Regions from separate parts of the Homo sapiens genome. Here region 1 is linked to region 2. The links are contacts of gene promoters, found by promoter capture Hi-C in human tissues and cell types (Jung and others, 2019). All regions are on one chromosome and are shown on one strand. The core of a region is centred on a gene start or on the middle of the fragment in contact, and the rest is flanking DNA. Distances in the headings are between cores, read along the strand shown.

Region 1 (3,714 bases), core at 233-2,732, 200 kb before region 2:
TTATTAACAACTTGGGGAGGCTCTATAAATTTGTATCCTTACAGAAATCCACATGTACATTTGGTCTTTAACCATAACATAGACTCATTCTAGTGTTCCATACCACTCTAGGAAGACTATAGTTAATACTATGTAGTTTCAAATAGCTAGAAGGAGGTTACTGAATGTTCCCAACACAGAGAAATGATAAATGTTGATAAATGTTAGAGATGATGGGTATGTGCACAATTACCATGATCTGATCAGTATATACTATATGTATCAAAACATCCTTATATACCTCATAAGTATGTATGTTATATGCTGATTAAAAAATACAATAAAAAATAAAATAATGCAGTCTCATGATATATTCTCTCTATATTTACTTTGAAGGCTGAGTAACTTTCTATATATATATGACTAAAAGGAAATACATTAAAAATCAACACTATTATTGGATGGTGGGATAACATTCATTAAAAAATCTTTCTTCTTTATAGCTTTCTATATTTTCTGAATTTTCCAATTTCTATATACTCTCAGAACCATATTGATTTAGCAAGATAGAATGATGCTGGGTTGAAGTTGTCTACTTCATGGGGCTCTGTTCCACTTGTTCTTATGCCATCAGAGCAACATTCCTTCAGACAGTCTTTGGTACTCAATCTAACTCAAAATGGACTCCCAAAATGTCAGTTAAAACCTCTTACAGAACAAGAATATAATTACGAACTTACCGATACTTAACCATTTCATTGCTAGCTAAATACTTTCTGACCTGCAAACACGCCAATTTCTATATGGTTCAACCTAATGAAATTAAAACAACTTTAAAAGCCAAAATAATTAAAATAACAAAATGACAGGCTTAAAAAGAAAAGCAGAACGAGAAATGAAATGTAACAAAAAAAGGAAAAGACCTGTTCAAATTATATTTCTTTTTCTCCCAACCTATTCAGAGACTTAACTACTTGTAGATGATAAATTATCTCAGTTCTTCAAATTCCTAAGCTTCACCTCTGGGCATTAGTGTCAACTACCACTTATTATTTGGTAAAAATGAGCTTCACTTTTTGTCTGACATCTTAGCAAGGCTGCAGTGTTCGCCACTGCTCTCCGAGCTTCACGATGCCACCCAAGGACTACAAGAAGAAGACAGACACTGGAAAGTCAGCCAAGAAAGACAAAGACCCAGTGAACAAACCCGGGGGCAAGGCCAAAAAGAAGAAATGGTCCAAAGGCAAAGTTAGGGACAAGCTCAATACCTTGTCTTGTTTGACAAAGCTACATATGACAAACTCTGTAAGGAAGTTCCCAACTATAAACTTATAACTCCAGTTGTGGTCTCTAAGAGACTGAAGATTTGAGGTTCCCTGGCCAGGGCAGCCCTTCTGGAGCTCCTTAGTAAAGGACTTATCAAACTGGTTTCAAAGCACAGAGCTCAAGTAATTTACACCAGAAATACCAAGGGCAGAGATGCTCCAGCTGCTGGTGAAGATGCATGAACAGGTCCAAGCAACTCTACATTTGGAAAAATAAAACTTTATTAAGTAAAAAAAAAAAATGAGCTTTAAACATTGATTAATTAACATATTATTTTAGTGCAGCTGATGTGAGTTTATTTATGTAACTGTCATTCCAAAAATGATTTGAGATACTTTGACTCATCTTTTATTCCTCCCTCGCCCTCATCTCCCACATTCATTCAGTCATCAAGTGAGTGCCAAGGACTCTACCTCTGAAATCCTCTTAAATAGCATCTTTTTCCCCATCCCTTTGCCACTACACCCCAATCCAAGTTGAAATTATCTCTTGCCTGAATTATTAACGGGTCTCGCTGCAATTATTCTTACTCCATGCTAGCCCAAGTAACAGAGTGATCTTTCTAAGCCTGATAATACAGATAATAAGCAAAAAATATATATAATATTAAGTTATTTACACTTAGTATGGACTATGGATTATACTAAGAATTTTCACACATTAATTCTAACAACTCTACAACTATTATTATTCCATTTTACAGATAAGGAAACCAAAGCGTATGAATGTTAAATTGCCCAATTTCAATGGCTAGAATACAGCAGAACTAGGATCTGAATTAAGACAATTTGCCTTTAGATGGAAACCACTTTGCATACTGCCTTATAAACCGGAATATATAACCTGCCTGCTTAAAATGCTTCATTCGCTTCTGTTGCCCAAAACCTTAAATATGCCTTCTGAAGCTTTCAAAGATCTGTTCCCTATCTACCACCTCTCTGGTCTTACCTCCATTCACACTCTATGGAACTGCCTTGAGTACACGCTGTTCTCTCTGACTTTTAAGACCACATCTGTTATGCAGCACCCTATCCCACCCCAACTATCCAACCCCTGGCTAATTTCTGAGCAAGAGACCTTTTAGAACACTTAGGTGAGAAATCCTTCATGTCATATGCAGTACAGCAGTATATATTTTTTCTTCTACAACTCCCATGCAACTTTATGATTGTTTATAGTTAACTGTCTATTTCCTTCATTAGACTGCAGACTTCCTGAAACCAGTGAACAAGTTTATTTTATTTATGGGCATATCCATGAGGCCTACCACAGGGTTGGCACAGGGTAGGCATTCAAAAGGTATTTTTTATTGAATAAACAATGAATGTCCAATGAAACAAAAGGCAATTCTGCTTCTAAGTTGAAAGATCTTTCAAGTAAAACCCCAGCATGGTAACTGTTTAACTCACCTATAATTATTAGGTCGAGGCATATGAAATTGCCTATTTGTGGGTCAAAAACTGTCAAATAGCAATTTTAACATGGACAAACCAAATATGTTTCCAGTCTTATAATTCAGGAAACCTTTAGAACTCCCAGCAAGTATGACTTACATAAACTCACACAAAGGAAAATAACTTCACAGGGATAAGATATAGGGCTTAAAATTATGTTCACAAGTAATAATTTAGAGGGACCTACTGTAGCAATTGCTGTATGACAGCAGACAATACAGTTCTAACATCCACCAGCCACTATTTTCATGTAGGACAAGGCAGCAAGAGTGCTCAGTTGTGAAAAAATGGAATTATGGCCTATTTTGGAGGGCAGGACTCAAACACACTGTCTGATTTTCCAGAATGTCAAAGCTTAAGGAAAAATCAACAGACTACCTCAGCTACCTCAGTTCAGAGAAGAGGAAATGAAGCGGCAGAACTGAAACTAGTACCCAGGCTTCCTCCTCCATGGCCAACATTCTTTTTTGCTAAATCGATCTCCTTTTATTGTTGGGTATCCACAGGCATATGCTTATGATTAAATATTATTCAATAATACAAACCTACCAGACAGAAGTTGTTAATTAAAAAGCAAAACAATCTGCGTAGTAATAACATAATAATTGAATACATTATTTTTTCCAGACTAGCAAAATGTGGCTGGGCCTCCAGGGATTCCTTTCAACAATTAGAAATGTAAATATTGGTTGGCAGGGCACGGTGGCTCACGCCTGTAATCCCAGCACTTTGGAAGGCCAAGCTGGGGGGATCACAAGGTCAAGAGATCGAGGCCATCCTGGCCAACATGGTGAAACCCCATCTCTACTAAAAATACAAAAATTAGCTGGGCATGGTGGCACATGCCTGTAGTCCCAGCTACTCGGGAGGCTGTGACAGGAGAATCACTGAACCTGGGAGGCGGAAGTTCCAGTGAGCCAAGATCGTGCCACTGCACTCCAGCCTGGCAACAGAG
Region 2 (4,147 bases), core at 109-2,608:
GAGACGGAGTCTCAGTCTTGACCCCCAAGCTGGAGTGCAGTGGTGCGATCTCAGCTGTCTGCAACCTCCGCCTCCCGGGTTCAAGCGATTCTCCTGCCTCAGCCTCCGAGTAGCTGGGATTACAAGTGTGCACCACCATGCCCGGCTAATTTTTGTATTTTTAGTAAAGACGGGGTTTCGCCATGTTGGCCAGGCTGGTCTCGAACTCCTGACCTCAGGTGATCTGCCCGCCTCGGCCTCCCAAAGTGCTGGGATTACAGGAGTGAACCACCGCACCCGGCCCCATGTCCTTTTTCTATACCAGGAGCCAATTCCGGATTTCACATTACATTCCTGCTCTGTCACCCAGGCTGGCCTCCAAGTCCTGGGCTGAGCGATCCTCCCGCCTCAGCCTCCTGCGTAGCTGGGACTACAGGCGCGCGCCACCACTCCTGGCTGCCGCTTCTTTAAAATGGTGAAACCCCGTCTCTACTAAAAATAGAAAAAATTAGCCGGGTCTGCTGGCGGACGCCTGTAATCCCAGCTACTCTGGAGGCTGAGGCAGGAGAATCTCTTGAACCCGGGAGGCGGAGGTTGCAGTGAGCCGAGATCGCGTCACTGCACTCCAGCCTGGGCAAGAAGAGCGAAACTCCGTCAAAAAAATATATATATATATTTTAATCTATGCCCTGTACTTGAGGGATTTGTGCTCTCGGGCAAATTACCGAACGTCTCTGAGTCACTTTTCCGTCTAATAGACGTGATGCGATGAAGAACCAATAAAAAACACACTTTGAATGGCTTCGGAAACTTCGAAGGGAAGTGAATACATTTTTCTTTTCTTTCTTTCTTTTTTTTTGAGACAGTCTCGCTCTGTCGCCCAGGCTGGGGTGCAGTGGCGCGATCTCGGCCCACTTCAACTTCTGCCTCCTGGGTTTAAGCGATTCTCCTGCCTCAGCCTCCCGAGTAGCTTGGATTACAGGCGTCGGCCACCAGGCCCGGCTAATTTCTGTATTTTTAGTAGAGACGGGTTTTCAACGTGTTGGCCAGGCTGGTCTTGAACTCATGACCTTAAGTGATCCGCCCGCCTCGGCCTCCTAAAGTGCTGGCATTACAGGCGTGAGCCACCGCGCCCGGCCTGTGAATACATTTTTCTTATTGCTTGACGCTGGGTCATACAATTCACTTTTTTGTTGTGCAGATTAAAACCAAAACAAAGCAATTAGGAGAGCGTTGTTGTCGAGGTGTTTTGTTCCAAGGTAGGACCCGTAGCTTCTCCCCTGCCCCTCAGCTGGGAGTAGCGGCTTCTGATTGGACAATGCGCGTCCGCCACGACGCAGGAAGGCCGCCTCATTGGTCCGCGCTGTCGGGCTTCGGCGGCTTTTCTCTTTAGCGCTCAGGGCGCTGACCCACTGCTCTTCCTCTTAAGAAAGTGCTCCATTCCTTCCGGCGCCCGGAGCTGCTGGCCCAAAGGGATCCGGAGCGAGCTAGGGCAGGTAACTGCATTGGGGTCCACCGGGAAGCGGCAGCAGCTGCGGACTACGGGAGGGAGTGGGGTTGGCGAGCTTGGGTAAAACTGCCCCTTCTTCGCTCTGTCTCGACCCCCAAGTTCTCCGCGTCTTCCTCGTCCCCTTTCCTCCTCTGGCCCCACCTCCCCCGGGCCCTTCCAGCCTTCCCCCAAAAGCTCCACACACCCCTCTGCTTCCCGTCCGGGGGCCCCGCCTCCTCTGCTCGCGTCTCCAGGGGGCCCGCCCTCGTCTCCTCCCCGCAGCGGTCCCTCCTTTAGGAGCGCAACTCCTTCCCTCCCCTCCGCCGCTGCTGTGTCCCCCGCTTGGCCCATTCCTGGGCCTTAAGTTTGGTTTTGTTCCTTCTTGGCACCTCCACCTGTCTCTCCATGATCCCTGTCTCCTTTGCATCTGACTGCTGGAGTCCTCCGATTCTCCCGTTGACCCAGGCTGCGAGTTTAGCAAATTGTGCAGCGGCATTGTGCTGGGCTTTGGGGATAGAGGTAGTGACTAGAGGTCCCTACGTTCAAGAACTCCTTGCCCGGTGGGAGAGAGTCACTTTGTAAATGGAGTATGATAGGCCCGGTGATAAGTCTTTAAGGCAGCCGCATTCCTGCTGAATTCTCAAGCAGGCCTCTGGGGGCTAAGCTGCATCTTTTCATCAGAATGCCCTTGGCTACTTCTGATGCAGAAGCCTGGTCCTTTATATTTTTAGTTTTTATTTTTTTTTGAAACAGAGTCTCGCTCTGTCTCCCAGGCTGGAGTGCAGTGGCGTGATCTTGGCTCACTGCAACCTCCGCCTCCCGGATTCAAGAGATTCTCGTGCCTCAGCCTCCTGAGTAGCTGGGAAAACAGACACCCGCCACCACACCTGGCTAATTTTTGTTTGTTTGTTTGTTTGCTTTTACTAGTAGAGACAAGAGTTTCGCCATGTTAGCCAGGCTGGTCTCGAATACCTGGTCTCAAGTGATCCTCCCTCCTCGGCCTCCCTAAGTGCTGGGATTACCTGCGCGAGCCCGGCCATCATAGTCCTTTAAACCCTTGGGAGTTATTAAAATCTTTGTATGGGCCCTTCTTTTAAACTGTCAGAATAGGTAGCGTTTCAGAGACCATCCATCCAAGCCCTCAGGGTGTTGTCTGGGAAGTTGAAGGCTGGTGACAGAGAGTGATTGCCTAGACAAATAGTGACTCAGCATTGTACTCTTGATGCCTCTTTTTGGGGTTTTTCCTGAGGATACTTAAACAATTTTTCAATTAGGCAGCAGTCTTAGCTGGTGGGAAAACTAAAAGCACAGATAAAACCACTAGTCAGTAGATTCCTCCAAGCCAGTGCAGGTGGCTTGTACACTTAACTCAGACTAGAGTAATTTATACCTCAGGCTCTTGGAGTCAGGAATCCCTGGGGTCTGGTCCCAGCTCCGTCATTCGCTGTTAAGCTTGGTGAAGACTCTTCCTTTATCTGAGCTTCAGTTTTACCTTCTGTTAAAGAGTGTGATAAGCCCTAACACACAGGGTAACGGTAGGGATTTGTTAAGATTTTGGTTATGAAAATAATCACTTTAGTGTCCTGGAAATTGTAGGATCTCAGCACAGGCGAGCCCCCTATGCTTCAGATTCATGTCTGTCTGGCTCAAATCAGCAAAGAACCTGATATGCTTTCTTTTTCCAGACACCATGACCACCCTTGATGATAAGTTGCTGGGGGAGAAACTGCAGTACTACTATAGCAGCAGTGAGGATGAGGACAGTGACCACGAGGACAAGGACCGAGGCAGATGTGCCCCAGCCAGCAGTTCTGTGCCTGCAGAGGCTGAGCTGGCAGGCGAAGGCATCTCAGTTAACACAGGTACTGAGAAACCCTGGGCTCTGGGAACAGGCTTAAAAAATGTACATTAAATACATATTAATTAAATACATATTAATAAATTAATTCTCCTGATCACTTTTAACTCTGGTCCCACTTTCAGAGGTAACCTAGTCTTTTCATTATGTGTGCTTCTAGCCTTTTAGTGCACAATACAAATGTATGTGCATAGCAGCATGGTAATGAACACAGACTGGCCTGGATTTGAATCCTGCATCTCGTATTAACAGTTTGATATCTCATAAATCACAAGTATGAGTATATGGGTAGTGCAAATTCCTAAAAATGGCATATTTACACTTGTACATTTTAATATTGTCAAATTGCTGTCAGTTGAGTTGAGGTGGCAGTAGTTTATAGTTTAATCAGCAATCTGTGTTTCTCCGTACACTTGACCTCCTACTGTGTTATGAAACTCCTTGATCTTTGCTATTGTAGTAATTCATTGTAGGTTTATTTCCGCCCCCACCACCTTTTTTTTGTTTTGTTTTGTTTTTTTGTTTTTTAAGACAAGTTCTCACCTTGTTGCTCAGGCTGGAGTGCCTTGGTGCCATAATGGCTCACTGCAGCCTCAACTTCCTGAGCTCAAATGATCCTTCTGCCTCAGCTTCCATGAGGTTCCTCTCTTAAAAAGCTGGGACCACGTGTAGCTGGGACCACAGGCGCTTGCCACCGTGCCCAGCTAATTTATTTCTTTATTTTTTGTAGAGATGGGGTCTCACTTTGTTGCCCAGGCTGGCCTCACACTGCTGGCCTCAAGCGATCATCTGCCTCAGCGTCCCATAGGCATGAACCAATG

The links. The method cuts DNA at HindIII sites, captures the fragments that hold promoters and counts their contacts. A contact is called where the count stands out against the background at its distance.
Region 1: a fragment that was not itself captured here is called in contact with the fragment with the promoter of PDCL in region 2 in 2 of the 25 tissues and cell types used here (adrenal gland and dorsolateral prefrontal cortex).

What each region holds. Positions count from the first base shown.
Region 1 is chr9:123,027,150-123,030,863 of GRCh38, reverse strand. All of the region lies in intron 13 of RABGAP1 (RAB GTPase activating protein 1), which reads right to left. It also overlaps the pseudogene RPS25P8. Among named protein-coding and RNA genes, the nearest start is that of GPR21, 4.7 kb to the left of the region's middle. The HindIII fragment of the contact is 5,092 bases long and covers 1-3,714 here.
Region 2 is chr9:122,825,799-122,829,945 of GRCh38, reverse strand. It overlaps PDCL (phosducin like), which reads left to right and starts at 1,358. Exons shown (of 4, transcript NM_005388.5): 1 at 1,358-1,475; 2 at 3,154-3,330. The coding sequence starts at 3,159. RefSeq lists an enhancer at 1,162-1,456. The HindIII fragment of the contact is 7,303 bases long and covers 1-4,147 here.